Linked DNA regions of Homo sapiens: regions 1, 2, 3, 5 and 6 are each linked to region 4. Evidence: promoter capture Hi-C in human tissues and cell types (Jung and others, 2019). All regions are on one chromosome and are shown on one strand. Each heading gives the region's core, a stretch centred on a gene start or on the middle of the fragment in contact. The rest is flanking DNA. Distances are from core to core; before and after follow the strand shown. Region 1 overlaps DAPK1 (death associated protein kinase 1). Region 2 overlaps DAPK1 (death associated protein kinase 1). Region 3 overlaps LOC105376131 (a long non-coding RNA gene). Region 4 holds the start of NXNL2 (nucleoredoxin like 2). Region 5 has its middle 6.0 kb from the start of SHC3. Region 6 has its middle 26 kb from the start of CDK20.

Region 1 (2,749 bases), core at 138-2,637, 830 kb after region 4:
GATGATTTTCTCACACAGGTGAGTCATGGGAGGACAGACCTAGAGGGGGCAGGGCCAGACAGGTTAACTCACCTGCAGCTGTGGGTGCCCTGAGCAGAGCCACAGTGGAAAGGACACCTTTCATTCAGGCGCCTTGCAGGTGATTTGATGAACGAGTGGGTTTTTTTGTTGTTGTTGACGTTTTTTTTTCTTTTTTTAGACTGGGTCTCGCTATTGCCCAGGCTGGTCTCAAACCCTTGGGCTCAAGTAATCCTCTTGTCTCAGTCTCCTGAGTAGCTCCGACTACAAGTACACACCACTGTGTCTGGCTAGTTTGTGTTTTTTGGGTTGAGTACTGGGGCAGTTGTCTTTTAGACTTGCTTTTAAGCCTCATCTATTGCTCAAATATAAAGTTTTATAAAGGCTCTTTAGTTCATGTTAAATAGATTTTGAGTCTTCTAGGAACGTTTTTGGAATTGTGGACTCAGTCACTCAATCAACTAATGTTCACCAACTCCTAATGTTTCACTCCCTCACTTTTTCCTCCCTCCCTCCTTTCTTCCCTCGCTCTCTCTCTCGTGACTGTTTCACTCAGGCAATGATCACTTTATGAACAGAGGAAAAGAGAATGAGTATCATCATCAATATTAGAGTGAGTGTTTACCAGTAAATTAGGCATTCGTGGGGACTGTTGTTGAAATATTGTTTCCAATTAGACCCATTCTTGGTATGTAGGCTGAAGTGGATTTTTAACCTTTTAACTTGGTTAATTAGATCAGCATATGTTACAGACTCACGTAATCCACATACCTCTGAATTAGAAACCACATAAGCCACAGGCTACACCGTGCCATTAATTCCGCACTCCCCTCTCAAATTCTTTTGTGTCAGCTAAATTCCACTCTGCATTCAAAAACAAAATTCTCAGGGGTGAGTGCAGTTGATGTGGTGGGCTCCACCTGCCTGAGCTCAGGAGTTTAGGGGTTGGGCGGGGGGTGTCTGAGAAGCAGCAGATCATGCCAGAGCCCAGCTCAAAAATCTCCAGGGACACTCCCTCCTGCCTCAGGAATGCAGCCTCAATCCAGACCTGGTGGGGAAGCACAGGGGCCCTCAGAGACCACTGTTAGTTCCCAGATCACCGCCCCTGGTTTCTGTGACAGATTCCTCCCAGGCCTCACCGGACTACCCCCTATCTTCTGATGATGCCACAGTGGGACCCCAACGAGGATATCTGGTGTGAAGGGCAGGGTTTTCTGGAGACAGGAAAGGGTTTCCCGAGAATTCTGGAAGCACATCTAGAACCAGAATCTGGTGCGGGAAGCACAGCATTTTCTTATTAGCAAAGCAGTTAAAAAAAAAAAAAAAAAATACACCCAGAGGCAGCTTCAAAGGTAAGAGAGGGAGACAGGCATCTGCCCGCATTTGTCCTCAGGCCTCGGCAGCAGGAAGACTCCAGAGTGAATGCCACCACTTCTCCACTGGGACGCTCGCCCTTTTCTTACCAATTCCGGAGAGCTTTTTGAACATTACGGTGTGACCATTTATCTGTCCAAAGCATTGAGAATGCTTTTTCCCAGCCTATTTCACCTTTCAACTTTGTTTACTTAATTTGTTTGCTAGAAAAAAATTTTAAAAATTTTTACATTTTCAAACAGGTATATTTTCTTTTAAAATTTCTAGGGTTTTAGATCTTGGTTTAACAGGTTCCCTCAGTCCCTAGTTATTTTGAAAATACACTCTCCACAATTTCTATTCAAGGTATTTATTGTTTCATGTTTTTACTTAAAAGCTTTAATCCATTTATTTTTGGACTTTGTAGGGTGTAGGAATCCAACTTTATTTCCTTCCAGACAAATAGCCAGTTGTGCCAGGTTCATTTATTAAATAATCTTTACCCCATTAAATTCAAATGACATATTTATTTTCCATTATATTTCTAAAGATATTATGATTTACTTCTATACCCTCTAAGCTTTTCCTCCTATTTAACTGTATTGATTATCAGGGGCTTTATAATAGGTTTAATGAATTTTTCCATGGAAATTTTAAGATAAAAATCCCAATCCCCTCAACCCATTCAGATGCTAACTGAAATTGTATTACATTTATATAACTAGGGAAAAATAAAATAGTCATATCTTGCAACCCAAGAATACAGTCTCATTCCCTTTGTTCATTTATTCTTTTCTGTCTTTCAAAAAAGTTTGTGACTGTTTTTCTACTTTTCTGAATTTTCTAAATATTCCACAATAAGTCACTTTTGAATTTTTTGGTTTTTTCCCAAAATTGGCCAGGCATGGTGGCTCACACCTGTAATCTCAGCACTTTGGGAGGCTGAGGTGGGAGGAGCACCTGAGCCTAGGAGTTCGAGACCAGCCTGGGCAACATAGTAAGACCCTGTCTCTACCAAAAAATCAAAAAAATTAGCCAGACATGGTGGTGCGTGCCTATAGTCCTAGCTACTTGGGAGGCTGAGATGGACAGATTGCTTGAGCCCTGGAGTTCAAGGTTACGGTGAGCTATGATCACACCACTGTACTCCAGCCTGGATGACAGTGTGAGATCCTGTCTCTGAAAAAATAAAATAAATAAATAAAATATTGTTAAAGAAACCAATAAATCGGTAAGAATTTCATAAAATTGAAGTGGTCCACCTTGCCCATAATAACCCTTCAGCTCCCATCATCTCCTTGTTTCTCTATTCTTCCTTTCTTTTCCCAGGGCACTAGGATAAAGACATGTCCAGGCAGACACCTCTTACTGGGTCCTA
Region 2 (2,991 bases), core at 174-2,673, 910 kb after region 4:
TCGCTAGGCCTCTGGCGCTGTGGTGGGCATTGATGTTACAGGTACAGTTGATGGCAAAAAATGGACACAGAAAGCTGACTCGAGGTCAGTCGGGTGCTCTGGCCAACTCAGGAGTGTCACAGGATCTGGAAGAAATCAGGGGATAAGGGTCCTGTCCACTTGCTGGCTGAGTAATCCAGGGGAAGACACTTAACCTTTCTGCACCTCTGGTAGAATAAAGATGGCTGCAAACCCTTTGGCACTACCCATTGAGAGCTGTGGTCTCTTTTGCTGCATCGCCTTGAATCTGAGCAAGTTCTGTGCCTGCTCGACCAATAGAATCTGAAAGAAGTGATGCTGTGCCAGTTTCCAGATCCAGGTTTTAAGAGACTGGCAACTTCCATGTCCTGTTTTGGAGGACCTGACCTTAGGTCTCAGCTGCCATGCTGTGGGAGAGCCCAACTAGCACAGTGGAGGAGCACAGGTGGAGTGGAACCAACAGCCCTGACTGAACTCACAGCTGACAGCCAGCACTACCTTGTCAGTCATGTGGAGGACATCTTGGAAGGGGGTCCCCTCTGAGTGATCTGCAGCATGTCAGGGGCCATCTAAGTAGGGAATCCTCTAGCCCCAGGCATCTGCTCCAGCTGTGGCTGCAAGGAGTAGGGAAAAGGTGTCCCTGCTGAGCCTTGTCCTAATTTCAGATTTGTGATCAAAACAAATGACTGTTGCCACTTCACATCAAGAAGCTTTGGAGTGCTTTCTTTTGTAGCAATAGAATCTCAGAACCCTGCCTCCTTGAGCTTTTGTGAGGATTAAATGACACGATGTATATAATACACCCGGCATATAAAAAGTGCTCAGTGAATGGCAATTATCAGTATTCAGAAAAAATAAAGCTGCTTGAGTTCCCCTCCCAGTCCAGGAACAAAGTGTTACCTCCTATCTGAGGGGTTTTGCTCCTCAGGCCCAGCTTTCTACAGAGGTGGATGTTTTTTCACCGTCTCTACATTAAATGAGCTCAAATGAAAGGCACTTATGAGCAAGGGCATGGCACACAGTCCTTGCACAGGAAATGTTAGCTCGATCCCCGGCACAATCCCTTCCTCTCAGGAACCCAGAACCTTTCATAAAAACTATCTTGTCTTACACCTCCACTCCCAACCCACCCTCTAGCCCATAGCGTCACCACTGCACCCGGTCCCCAATGTCTCCTAAAATTAACAGGCAATTTTATTCCAGTTCCTTTGTGTCCTGCTTGATGATGGGGACGGACTGTCGCTACCAGCACAAAAACCTTATGTTTCAGGGATGTATGCCTCGTGCATGAGGGACCAAACCTGTTAGCTCTGCCAACTGTGCCAAGAAAAGAAAGATCCACATTTGGAAATACTTTGGGATCCCCAAAAGGTCTCTAGCCTCAAAAATGTGGTCTTCCATAGGCATGAAAGACTAATCTGTGAAGCTGCATTAAGGTCCAGCCTGTGTGGAAAAGGAAGATTTTTAATGTAATCACTTTCATTCATAAGTGAAAAAAGCAAAACCATGACTTTCTTTTAGCATCCAAGAAGGAAACAGAATGCTGGATTGGTGAAAAGAAAATGCACCATGATTTATTAATACCAGCAGGCCCAGGAGGATGTGGGGCCAGACCACTTTACTCAGCTGTTAAGAAGGTGGAAGTCATTACCAGCACAGCATAATAAACAATTGTGCTTTCAAGTCCTAGTGGGCCCCTTATGTGATTACCCAACCCACTGACTCAAATGATGGCATGCTCAAATTCAGGGCCAAATGATTGAGTGGCAGTTTGCTGAGGCGCGGATTTTCAAACAGGAGGCTGCAGTTCTCAGCTTGACATGGAATTTTTAAAAAGTCCTTATTATTTATTTTTTTTTTAGAGATGGAGTCTCACTCTGCCGCCCAGGCTGGGGTGCAGTGGTGCAATCTCGGGTCACTGCAACCGCCACCTCCCGGGTTCTAGCAATTCTCTTGCCTCAACCTCCCGAGTAGCTGGGATTACAGGTGCGCCCCACCACACCCGGCTGATTTTTTGTATTTTAGTGGAGACAGGGTTTCACCGTGTTGCCCAGGCTGGTCTTGAACTCCTGAGCTCAGGCAATCCACCTGCCTCGGCCTCCCAAAGTGCTAGGATTACAGGCGTGAGCTACAGCACCCAGCCTATTTTTTTCTTAAATTGAGGAAGCATTATGTGGAATATAAGGAGGCATTTATAAAACAAGCCAACAAACCAAAAGCAATCTTTTTTTTTCCTCTCTTCCCCTTTCAGGGAAGAGAATCTACCTTCCCTCTACCCACTGAATACATCAAAATGACTGGAGTTCTTGAAAATGTGCTCTTGGTTCAGAGACTTGGTTTGTAAGAGACAACCTTCAGGAGAAGACAACCTTTAGTGCTGTTTTGTGAGGTACCGGAGCCTGCTGCTCAGGCAGCAGGGTGACACTCACACCCTGCAGGGTGTCTGGTGTAGGAGGTTGTCACACCTACGAAGGATTCACAGAAACCACAGCCTCCTACCCCAACACTGGGCATTGGCTCAGTTTCTGATTCTCTGCTTGCATTTTTGTTTCCACAGGGGATAGGGAGCGAGGGCGCATGGGAAAGAGAAATGGATGGGGGAGGTACCATAAAAATACTCCAAAGAAATGAAATCAGAATTTGTTAAAGTTCCCAGAGACCTTTTAGAAATGAAAATGGTAGAGGCCATCAACTCAGAGAAATAAAAAAAAAAAAAAGTGCAAGGCAGCCAGCATGAAAGCCATTCTAGAATGGTGGCTCAATGTGCATCCCAAGTCATTCCATGGGCCCAAAGGATGCCCTTGGAGAGAGGTGGTAACGTGTGAAAAAGGGCTCTGATGTTGCCGAGGCTCTACCGAGCCCAGTGTGGATGTGGGGGAACTGCAGATTACTGGATTGGTGATGAGAGGCTGAGGGTCTAGAGTCACCCAGGCCACAGTTCTAACAGGCAGGAGAGGGTAGAGAGGGGTGCTC
Region 3 (2,718 bases), core at 165-2,664, 550 kb after region 4:
AGTGGTATGTGTCTGTAGCCCCAGCTACTCAGAGGCTGACATGGGATGGTTGCTTGAGCCTGGGAAGTGGAGGCTGCAGTGAGCTATGATTATACCATTGCACTCTAGCCTGGGCAACAGAGGAGCCCCTTTCTTAAAAAAAAAAGGAAAACGGGAAAAGAAAGCCAGGCACGGTGGCTCACGCCTGTAATCTCAGCACTTTGTGGGGCCGAGGTGGGCAGATCACCTGAGGTCAGGAGTTTGAGACCAGCCTGGCCAACATGGTGAATCCTCAACTCTACTAAAAAAATACAAAAATTAGCCGGCCACGGTGGTGTGTGCCTGTAATCCCAGCTACTCAGGAGGCTGAGGCAGGAGAACTGCTTGAACCCGGGAGGCAGAGGTTGCAGTGAGCCAAGATCCTGTCACTGCACTCCAGCCTGGGTGACAGAGCAAAACTCCGTCTCAAAAAAAAAAAAATATATATATGTATATACACGTATATACACGTATATACGTGTATATACGTATATACACGTATATACGTGTATATACGTATATACACGTATATACACGTATATACGTGTATATATGTATATACACATATATACATGTGTATGTGTGTATATATATATAGATATAAAAATGATATCCAGTTCCATGTTGCTGCAAATGACATGATTTTATTCTTTTTTTATGGCTGTTGGGAAAAGGGCTTGTGGGGTGCCTGCATAAACTGGCCATAAAAATATGGGACAATAAGTTGTGGAAAGCCACAAGAGGCCTCTGAGGAGGAAAGTCTTCTAATTGCCATAACGTTCCCATGACCAGAGCGTGACCTGCTCTCTTATCTATAAACACTGTGCTCAAGGAGAAAGACACTCCTTTGAAGCATTGGAATGTGGCCAGATATGCCGGCTCCTAGTTATGCCCACTCCCGATAGCTGCTCTCCAATAAGTTAAAGAATAAATCAGTAGTTAAGTTTATGCTGCTTCAGCACAAAGAAAATTTACCTAAACCGCCATTGCTATAGATTAGGTGTATGTCACACCGCCCCCCGCTTTCACCGTTTCACCCCTGAACATCTGCTTCTTAGATCTAAGTGACTGTACTCAATAAATAGTGTGGAGACCAGAGCTTGGCACCTTCGCAGCCTCTGATTTGTTCTGGCCCCCTGGCTCCCACCTTTATGAACTCTTAACCTGTCTCTTCTCATTCCTTTGTCACCACCGGACTTTGGGTACCCTACGGGTGGTGTTGGGGTTGGTCCCCAACATATGGCTGAGTAGTATTCCTGTATATACACATACATATATGTGTGTGTGTGTGTATAAAACATTTTCTTTATTCAATCATCCTTTGATAGACACCTAGGTTGACTTAGGTTGATTCCATATCTTTTCTGCTGGAAATAGTGCTACTACATACATACAAATGCAGGTACCTTTTTGATATAATGATTTCTTTTCCTTTAGGTAGATACCCAGTAATGGGATTACTGGATTGAATGGTAGTTCTATTTTTAATTCTTTGATAAATCTCCATACTGTTTTCCATAGAGGTTGTACTAATTTACATTCCCACCAACAGTATATAAGCATTCCCTTTTCTCTGTATCCTCGCCAACATTTTTTTTTCTTTTTTCTTTCTTTTTTTTTTTTTTTACAATTTATTTATTTTGAGACAGAGTTTCGCTCTTATTGCCCAGGCTGGAGTGCAATGGCACGATCTCGACTCACTGAAACCTCCGCCTCCGAGGTTCAAGCAATTCTCCTGCCTCAGCCTCCCTAGTAGGTGGGAGTACAGGCATGTGCCACCATGCCAGGCTAATTTTGTATTTTTTTAGTAGAGACAGGGTTTCTCCGTGTTAGTCAGGCTGGTCTCAAACTCCCGACCTCAGGTAATCCACCCGCCTCGGCCTCCCAAAGTGCTGGGATTACAGGCGTGAACCACTGTGCCTGGCCTTTGACTTTTTATTAATAGGCATTCTGACTGGTGTAAGCTGATATCTCATTTTAATTTTCATTTCCCTGATGAGTAGTGATGTTGAGAATATTTTCATATGCTTGTTGGCCATTTGTATGTCTTTGTTTGTCAAATGTCTGTTCATGTTCTTTGACTGCTTTTAGTGGGGTTATTTGGTTTTTGTTGTTGTTGTTAAGATGTTTGAGTTCTTTGCATATTCTGGATATTAGTCCGTCAGATGCATAGTTTGCAAAATATTTTCTCCTATTCTGCAGGTTGTTATTCACTGCGTTATTTTTCTGCTGTGCAGAAACATTTTAGTTTAATTAAGTCTCATTTGTCTATTTTTGTTATTGCTGTATTTGCTTTTGAAGTCTTAGCCATGAATTCTTTGCCTAGACCAATATCTAGAAGAATTTTTCGTAGGCTTTCCTTATGTATATTTATTTTATACTTCGGTTAATAATGTACTATTATATTTTTTATTTTCTTGGTCAAATTGTTCTAGCTTTGGCCATTAGGAATTCTTTCAGCTGGCTCCTGTGTCTCTATAACATACCCCCATCACTTCTTTTTACAACTTCTTAGTTTTTGTCACTACTTGTTTTCAAACTATTTATATTGTTATATTTGGAATGAGTTCGTTGTAGATGGCTTATGGTTGGGTCATGTTTTCTTTAGATTCATTCTGTTTGGTGTTCACTCAGCTTCATGAATCTCCCTTTCCGTATATTGCTTTTTTATTCTGTTGTGTCCTTTGATGCACAGAAGCT
Region 4 (2,700 bases), core at 56-2,555:
ACCACAGGAGACCCACCCCAAAAGCAGAACAATCAATCCCTGTAATCCCCTCTCTGCCAATCCCTACCCCCTCCTTTGCAACAGTTAGAGTAATAAAGTTTATAGTAATGAGTTTTATGCTTCTCTAGTGATGAAATTCCATCAGTGTCGGTAAAAATGAAACCGCAAAGGTGGCCAGCACCTGGGTTCCTGCCAGCCTTGAAGCCCCCGTCCCTCCCTCCCAGCAAACCAACCACGGCCTGCACTGTGGGTGCCTGTCACAGAGCTGATGTCCTCGCGGGTCATCCCTCATCCCCGCATCCAGACACCGGGTCATGTCCCTGTGCTTCCTGCCCACTAACTGGGAGGATGACGCAGCGGCGCCGGGAGTCCAGGGCTGATTGGGCCGGCGGTTCCCGGAGCCGAGCCCGCGAACTCACAGCATCACCACCACTGGGAGCTCCTTCGCAATGCAGATTCCCGGAGCTCCAGACCCCAGGCAGAAACGCGCCCGCGTCCATGCTCCACGAGCCCCCTTGGGGTGCCGATGCCCTGGGTTTTCGAATCTGGTCTGCACCCTCCCTGGTCTCCAAGAGAGGTTGAAACTGAGACTGAGTGTGATTTACCGGAGTCCGGACGTGAACCGAGAGACGGGGAGGTGTTGGGGGGGGGCGTCATAAAGAGCTCCCCAGTGCAGAGGGGGAGGCCTGGGGGAACATGGGGGAGACGTGCCGGGCGGCCCCCGCCCCCCCAGGACCCCCACTCACTGCCGGTAGGGGTCGTGGAAGGGCAGCGCCAGCCAGGCGCCATGCAGCTCGCGCATGAAGTCCAGCATCTCCTGGGAGCTGCCGTCGGCTGACACGAAGACCACTTCGAAGGGCGCGGGCCGCCGCGCCTCGGCCACCAGCGCCGTATAGAAGTCGCAGAGCAGCGGCGTGAAGTCGCGGCTCGGCGCGCACCGGGCCGCCGCGAAGTACAGTGCCACCACCTTGTTCTGCAGCGCCGCCTCGGCCTCCACCGTCGCGCCCTTACAGGTCACCAGGTGCCGCTCGCCCAGAATGTCAACCATGGCGCAGACACGCAGCCACCTGAGACCCGAGGACACCTGCAGGAGGATGATCACCTGCGGGGAGGCGGCGGCGAGCGCCGCGGTGCCCCGCCTCTGTCCGCACCACCGGGCGCTGGACCTCTCAAGACCTGCCCCAGATGCGCCCACACCTTGGCCAGGCCTCGCCTGTGGCTGGAGCAATTGTGTTCGCGCCGACAATGAGACACTCAGACACCAGAGACCCCAGATACCTGGGCGACAGCGCGGCACCCGCCTCTGGGAGCGGGGCCAGCCAGGCAACCTCAAGCCCTCAGGTCTCTGCACCCTCCCCCAACTGCGCCCCGCCCACACTCCTGCGCCCTCCCACCACTGCGCCCCGCCCACATTCCCCGCAAGCTCCCCAACTGCGCCCCGCCCACATTCCGCACTCTCCACCCACTGCGCCCCGCCCACATCCCGCACTCTCCACCCACTGCGCCCCGCCCACATCCCCGCCCCCGCCCCCACTGCGCCTCGCCCGCATCCCCACACTGTCCCCCACTGCGCTGGGCCCACATCCCTACACTCTCCACCCACTGCGCCCCGCCCACATCTCCGCACCCTCCCCCACCGCACCCCGCCCACATCCCCGCACTCTCCTCCAACTGCGCCTCGCCCACATTCCACAGTTTCCCCTCACTGCGCCCCGCCCACATCCCCGCACTCTTCTCCAACTGCGCCTCGCCCACATTCCACAGTTTCCCCTCACTGCGCCCCGCGCACACTCCCGCTCCCTCCCCCACTGCGCCCCGCCCACACTCCCGCGCCCTCCCCCTCACTGCGGCCCGCCGACATCCCGCGCCCCCGCCCCCATCCCGACTGCGCCCCGCCCACCTCCCGCGCCCTCTCCCACTGGTTGTCCAGCCCACATCCTGCACTCCCTCCACTGCGCCCCGCTCACACTCCCGCACCCTCCCCACACTGCGCCCTGCCCACACTCCTGCACTCTCTCCCCACTACGCCCCCTACCACATCCCGCGCCCCCGCCCCCATCCCCACTGCGCCCCGCCCACACTCCCGCGCCCTCGCGCCCCTGGGCTCTCCCGTCGTGGGCACTCTCCCCAGCGCTTCTACACTTTCTCCCGACGCAGCGCCCTGCCCTCCGTCCCGCCCCACCTATTGCCTCCTGCGCTTCCCCCACACCGTGCTCTTCCTCCTCCTTCACTTCCTCCCACTCCTCGCGCTCCCCTTCAGCGCCCCACGCAGCCCCTCCCCCAAAACCCCGCGTCGCTCTCCTTCCCTCCTGGCCTCTCTTCCAGTCTCGCGCTCCCTGCCGGGCCCCGCCGCAGGTGTCCCGCAGCCGTCTCCCCAGGGCATTTGAATCTTGCCTTGGAGCTCTTGCCGCGCGGCCCAGCACCCTGGAAGAGGCATCAGGGAGGATGGGACGACGAGGAAGGGGAAGGGTAATTGGGCTTGGAGCGGGCTTGGGCGGGGTGGTAGGGAACCTGAGCTCCGTTGGTTCAGGGTGTTTGCCCCTGACATCCTGTGGCCTGGCTGGGAGGGTTCGTGAAGTTCAGGAAGAAATTGGGAGCAGTCCTTACAGAATGTTTTATTTGAAGAACCAAGAGTATTAATTTTTTGGCGAGCACTGTTGTAGGCCCTGGGAATTCAGCAGTGAGAAAAATAATTTCAAC
Region 5 (3,090 bases), core at 356-2,855, 650 kb before region 4:
GGAACCTTAGAAATACAGAATATGGAGGGCGATGAGGGCTGGTGAGCCAGCGCTCTGACCCATCCTTGGAGCTGGCTGAGGCTCAAGGCCCTTCTCTGAGGACAGGGAGCCTGGCCCCGGCCTCCAGTTGTGAGGAACTCTCCTTGGTGCTGAAGCATTGGGTTCCACTGTTGGGAGCCCTGTTCCAGATTATTCTTAACCACAGGTATTCCTACATCCAGTCCTGCTCTCCATTCCCACAACAGGGAATGGGCATGTGGTCCCCTGAGGGTCCCTGCAAAGAGTACGTCTGCCCCTCTGCCTGGGTACCCCTCCCTCTACTGTCAATATGAGGTGTGGCTCTTCTGTCTTCTAAACAACTTGTGCCCTCATTTGCTCTTCCCTGAGTGCCCAGCCATCTCACCCTTCCCACATTGTCCTGGAGAAGCTCTCTTCTGTTTCAGCCTCCTCCCAGGATGACTCCAAACTCTGGCTTCAACAAAACTGGAACTCCCCACCCCCCAACACTGTGGTGAGGCTGATCCTTCTCCCCACCTACACCTCAAGAGGCACCATTAGGGACCTGCTCCCATGCACCTCTCCATGATGTGCACCCCAAGGCCCCAGGTTGCAATCTTCCCAGGGCCTTGAGAGCACTGTGCCTGCGTTTGATCCTCCTTCAGTGGCCATCCTATCCTTCTCTACCCCACATCCATTCCTGACTCCTGCTGGCTGTGTCCTCCAGGCCCTCCCTCCCGTGCCTTCATCCTAGAATGGACCCTGTAGCTAATGATTCACTGTCTTCCATTTCATAAACAGGCAGATGGATGCCCATATCTGGGCTCTCTATGACTGGTTCATGGTGCCATGCAGCAATCCCTTGCTTATCCTGACACATTGGCAGCACCTTTCGCCCCCCTCAGTGGCCATTCTGTACCTTCAACTGCAACTCAAATGCCTTACAGAAATGAAATCATCTCACTTTTTAAGTACATCCCTGCCTTTTATTCATGGTGAAAGTCAGGTGTAACGTCCAAATCAGACATAAAAGCTTTGAGCTTCCTACCATCGCCACAGACAAATTGACGTGCAGACACACTCAGCATGCACTTCCCCTCAGCCTTCCAGTCTGCTCTGTGCCTGGGGGCTGCCTCTCCCCATGGTCCCATCACCAAGCTCCCTGGACCTCTGGCTTCCCATGGATGTGGCCAATGGGAGGCACCAACAGGAGATAAGAGTAGGGAAAGAGACAGTCTGGGTATTTCCCCTCTCTGGCCTCCTCTCTGTCAGTAACTTTTGCCCTCTGAAACTTCAGCTGCCTCTGACAACCTCCACTCCAAAGTTCCAGCTGGGATTCTCCTGGCTCCAGTGACTCAATTCCCTTTCTGTTGCTTTGGTCCTGGAGCTGGAGATGGCCTCTGAGTCTTGTGACTCAGAGATGATATATCCCTGGCATATCACCATCCTTTGGGGCTATGTTAACCTCATCTTTATGTCTGTTATATTAAAGTCTCTGCCTTTGAACCACTTCAGAGGGGAGGGACTCCTGTTTCCTACTTTGGACCCTGAATGGTCTGCTCATCAAGTCCTCCTTCCCACCAGAGGATGAGATATCCCACCATCCCCACAGGGCAAGAGCTACCCAGGCTCTTGACCTGTCTCCTTCCTGCATTGATTTCTCCCACTCTGCTCTGCTCCCTGCCCCTAAACACACTCCTAACTCTTCCATCCCCTGCTTTGTACTCTTCTGCTCTACTGCTGGCTACTACCCTATGTCCCACCTTTCATTTCATTCCATCTTTTGGAAAGTATGATCTTTTCATTCATTTCTGGTCTCATTCAGCTGGCACCATCCTGCTACCTAAGCAGAAGCCTCTCCATCCCCATTGTTAAGATGTCGGGTGATGGCTGATCACCACCTGCCAAGGATGGGTCTCAGCAGGTACCTTACACAAGCTGTCTGAATAGGGGTGATGCTGGGTCATGAACGTGGCTTTGGAGTAAGACTATTCTGTCAGTTCCTCACTGTATTAGTCCATTCTCACACTGCCATAAAGAAATGCCTGAAACTGGGTAATTTATAAAGAAAAAAGGTTTAATTGGCTGACAGTTCTGCAGGCTGTATGGGAAGCATGGCTGGCGAGGCCTCAGAAAACTTACAATTATGGCGGAAGGTGAAGGGGAAGCAGGCACATCTACATGGTAGGGGCAGGATGAAGAGAGAGCAAAGGGGGAGGTGCTGCATACTTTTAAACAAGCAAATCTTGTGAGAATCCTATTATGAGACAGCACTGGGGGACAGCTAAACCATTAGAAACTGCCCCCATGATCCAGTCACCTCCCATTAGGCCCCACCTCCAACACTGGGGATTACAATTCAACCTGAGATTTGGGCAGGGACACAAATCCAAACCATATCACTCACCCAGTGTGGCTCTGGCACATTTTGTAACTCCTCTGATTCTTGGTTTCTTTTCATTCAAAACAGGCTGTAAACCATCTATCTATATCTCTCTATAGCAGGCATGCATTGGTGCCTAGGGACACTCAGTCAAGGTGGTTATGACTGTCATCATTACATTTGTTAACTATCACTGGTTTTTCTCTTGAAACTCTCCTCCATGACATTCATCAAACCAGGTTTCCATATTTATTCTCCAAATTATGACCGTTTTTTTTTCTTAGCTCCCATCTGGGAAGTCTGGCATTTGCAAGTTTCCACTTCCAGCCCTGACTGCTCTTCGGCTCTGGCCATCTCTACATGGAAGATCCCCACCCCTCACACACATTCAAGCCCAGCCCTTGCCTTTCCCCATGACCTGCCTGTCATGGGGATGCTCCTCATCCTCATGGCTAACATTCAGCTCAACCCAATGGTCCAAGTTAGAAACGTGGGCTTTGCTTGGCATTCCTTTCTTTGGGAGAGGCTGGGCTGCAGGGTGCCATGGGCACACAGCCTTCACATCAACTTTTTCTGGGGGTGCTCAGCTGTGGGGTGCCACCTGCTGGAGGCTGTTCCTCCCTGGGCAGCCCACACTAAAGAGGTGAATGTGGGAGAGAGTGAGGGAGTGCGTGAGAGTGAATGAGGAGCCCTGCAGGCCAGGGGATACT
Region 6 (2,946 bases), core at 376-2,875, 530 kb after region 4:
ACCACTTTTTCCTCTAGGCCTCCATGCCTGTGATGGCAGGGGCTGCTGCAAAGGTCTCTGACATGCAATGGAGACATTTTCCCCATTGTCTTGGAGATTAATGTTTGGCTCCTTGCTACTTATGCAAATTTCTGCAGCTGGCTTGAATTTCTCCTCAGAAAATGGAATTTTCTTTTCTATTGCATTGTTAGGCTGCAAATTTTCCAAACTTTTATGCTCTGTTTCCCTTTTGAAACTGAATGTCTTTAATAGCACCCAAGTCACCTCTTGAATGCTTTGCTGCTTAGAAATTTCTTCTGCTAGATACTCTAAATCATCTCTCTCGAGTTCAAAGTTCCACAAATCTCTAGGGCAGGGGCAAAATGCCAGCAGTCTCTTTGCTAAAACATAAGAAGAATCACCTATGCTCCAGTTTCCAACAAGTTCCTCATCTCCATCTGAGATCACCTCAGCCTAGACCTTATTGTTCGTATCACTAGCAGCATTTTTGTCAAAGCCCTTTAACAAGTCTCTAGGGAGTTCTGAACTTTCCCACATTTTCCTATCTTCTTCTGAGCCCTCCAAACTGTTCCAACCTCTCCTGTTACCCAGTTCCAAAGTCACTTCCACATTTTTGGATCTTTTCAGTAATGCCCCACTCCCGGTACCAATTTACTGTATTAGTCCATTTTCACACTGCTGGTAAAGACATACCTGAGACTGGGCAATTCACAAAAGAAAGAGGTTTATTGGACTTACAGTTCCATGTGGCTGGGGAGGCCTCATAATCATGGTGGAAGGTGAAAGGCACATCTCACATGACAGCAGACAAGAGAGCTTGTGCAGGGAGACTCTCGTTTTTAAAACCATCAGATCTCATGAAACTTATTCACTATCATGAGAATAGCATGGGAAAGACCCACTCCCATGATTCAATTACCTCCCACCAGGTCCCTTTCACAACACATGGGAATTGTGGGAGTTAAAATTCAAGATGAGATTTGGGTGGGGGACACAACCAAACCATATCAACAATCATTTATGAAAAATTAAATCATATAAACTTGTAATTAAATACATTATATTAAACACACAGGTATTGAATGCTCAAACTCATCACTTTCTATTTATTTGACTAATTATTAGAAGTCACCCATATCATTGCGCAAGTGAAGTTCTCTCATGTTGGCAACAAAACTATTAAATACTCTTCTGGATTTTACAAGAAATAGCAGTTCAAAGTGAAGTCATAGGTGCATAAAATTTGTGATAGAGTATTGTATATTTTACTATTAGTAGTAAATTGTGTGCTATATATTCTTTATATCAGTAAAATTTATAATAAACTCATAAAATATATATAATAACTCCCTATAAGGCCTGTTGATAGACATTTAGTCATACACCACTGAATGAAGCTGTTTTGTAGCACATGGAACTACAAGGAGATTTGGGATGAAAAGCTCTAGAAGATTTAGGGTAAAATACATAATCCAGCATTTATTATGCAGCACTTTAGATCCTTAAATACATTATTATTTAACTTCTCCAGGCTTGTAAAGACTTAATAATAACAAACATTTATTGAGGTCTTAAGGACTTACTATGGACAGGCCAGTAACATGATGATCTCATTAAATCATTGCAGTAACCCTCTGAGAGGAATATTATTATTATTATCCCCAATTGAAGAGGGGGAACGCAGTAGTTGTCATGGTACCCCAGATGGTGAAGAGCAGTTTGAGAAACCTACTGCAGATGGCTGTGCTCTGAGCCCTGTCTGAGCCTATACATGCTCAGGTAGAGACAGAAGCTCCCTGAGATCGAAGCTTGGTTCATGGACCTGGGCCCAGGAGATGGCACATTATGGACACTCAGCAGAGGTTTACTGATTTATTACTTAATGGATCAAGTAACAGTGGATCAAGTCATGATTTAAGCATCATGGGAAGCCACTGATCCAGTTTTAGTCTTGAGAAAATAGTGAATTTGGGGGAGATGAGAAGCTGTAGAGGGGAGCAGAAAGATTAACTAGAGCTAGAGTTTAAAACACTTGCTGCAAATATATTAATATTTAACCCTCACAAAGGTCCTTTATGAGAGCTGTTGTCTCCTTCCTTCAGCCAAGGAACTGCAGGCACTTGCGTAGAAAATGGGACTCATGTCTTCATGAAGAAGAGCTTATAGAGGGTCGTTCTTGACCTGTAGTGTGTATCTGAGTCATCAAGGGACCTTGTTAAAAATGCAGAGTCTGGTTCAGTAGGTCTGGGGTGCTGCTCAAGCATTTGCACTTGTGACGAGCACCTACAGGAGGCTGAAGCTGCTGGTCTGCCAGTAATACTTGGAGTAACTAGTCAAGAGGGTTTGTGTTGTTTGTTTGTCATTGAGAAAACTTTCAATGAAAGTTTCAGTTGAGAACTTTCAAGCTCATTGGCTTGGATGGGATAAGGCAAAATAACGTATTCTGTGTATTCTGAATACACAGAATAACCTGGGGTCCTGCATAGCTCCCTTTTGATAAATGAGAGCTCCCTTTTCTAGACAGATAACTCACTGTTAACTTATGGTCAGAGTATCTCACACAAGATTCCATGGAATCCTCCCAGCAGCTCTGAGAGATGGATATTGTCTGTGGATAAAGATGCTAAAGCATAAAGGGAATTCCACATTCTAAAATAAATAAGAGGAGGAGAGAGAAAATTAATATAGAGTAAGTGAATATAAAGTCCAGAAATGAGGGATCTATTGACATTACTCCTGAAGGACAAAAAGTTGTCGAGATGAGTTTTAGGCTCCTGAACCGACCATGTCACTAGGAACCAATTGTTACGGGAGCCAGAAGAGAAACTGATGCGCTAATGAATTTTTGATTGCATGAAGCTGGAGGCTCAGTGAGGGAGAACAGAGGTCTAAAAGAAAGATAGTTCTATGCTAGTTCCACTACCATTACTTTTGTCTGGAAATTTA

What was found. Contacts are between HindIII fragments. The study calls those that stand out against the background at their distance.
Region 1: a contact is called between a fragment that was not itself captured here and the fragment with the promoter of NXNL2 in region 4, in 1 of the 25 tissues and cell types used here (dorsolateral prefrontal cortex).
Region 2: a contact is called between a fragment that was not itself captured here and the fragment with the promoter of NXNL2 in region 4, in 1 of the 25 tissues and cell types used here (lymphoblastoid cells).
Region 3: a fragment that was not itself captured here is called in contact with the fragment with the promoter of NXNL2 in region 4 in 3 of the 25 tissues and cell types used here (dorsolateral prefrontal cortex, mesenchymal stem cells and stomach).
Region 5: a fragment that was not itself captured here is called in contact with the fragment with the promoter of NXNL2 in region 4 in 1 of the 25 tissues and cell types used here (lymphoblastoid cells).
Region 6: a contact is called between a fragment that was not itself captured here and the fragment with the promoter of NXNL2 in region 4, in 2 of the 25 tissues and cell types used here (bladder and spleen).

The regions. Positions count from the first base shown.
Region 1 is chr9:87,700,319-87,703,067 of GRCh38, reverse strand. It overlaps DAPK1 (death associated protein kinase 1), which reads right to left. Exons shown (of 26, transcript NM_004938.4): 25 at 1-39. Among named protein-coding and RNA genes, the nearest start is that of CTSL, 24 kb to the left of the region's middle. RefSeq lists enhancers at 1-530, 2,340-2,749. The HindIII fragment of the contact is 4,842 bases long and covers 1-2,749 here.
Region 2 is chr9:87,621,799-87,624,789 of GRCh38, reverse strand. The region is part of intron 3 of DAPK1 (death associated protein kinase 1); the gene reads right to left. Among named protein-coding and RNA genes, the nearest start is that of DAPK1-IT1, 70 kb to the right of the region's middle. The HindIII fragment of the contact is 4,767 bases long and covers 1-2,991 here.
Region 3 is chr9:87,982,684-87,985,401 of GRCh38, reverse strand. The region is part of intron 1 of LOC105376131 (a long non-coding RNA gene); the gene reads right to left. Among named protein-coding and RNA genes, the nearest start is that of CDK20, 9.5 kb to the right of the region's middle. The HindIII fragment of the contact is 6,657 bases long and covers 1-2,718 here.
Region 4 is chr9:88,533,783-88,536,482 of GRCh38, reverse strand. It overlaps NXNL2 (nucleoredoxin like 2), which reads right to left and starts at 1,305. Exons shown (of 2, transcript NM_001161625.2): 1 at 747-1,305. The coding sequence starts at 1,048. It overlaps LOC105376134 (a long non-coding RNA gene), which reads left to right and starts at 1,943. Exons shown (of 2, transcript XR_007061653.1): 1 at 1,943-2,469. RefSeq lists enhancers at 1-684, 685-1,519. The HindIII fragment of the contact is 10,556 bases long and covers 1-2,700 here.
Region 5 is chr9:89,183,243-89,186,332 of GRCh38, reverse strand. No RefSeq gene overlaps it. Among named protein-coding and RNA genes, the nearest start is that of SHC3, 6.0 kb to the right of the region's middle. The HindIII fragment of the contact is 4,623 bases long and covers 1-3,090 here.
Region 6 is chr9:87,998,863-88,001,808 of GRCh38, reverse strand. No RefSeq gene overlaps it. Among named protein-coding and RNA genes, the nearest start is that of CDK20, 26 kb to the right of the region's middle. The HindIII fragment of the contact is 6,418 bases long and covers 1-2,946 here.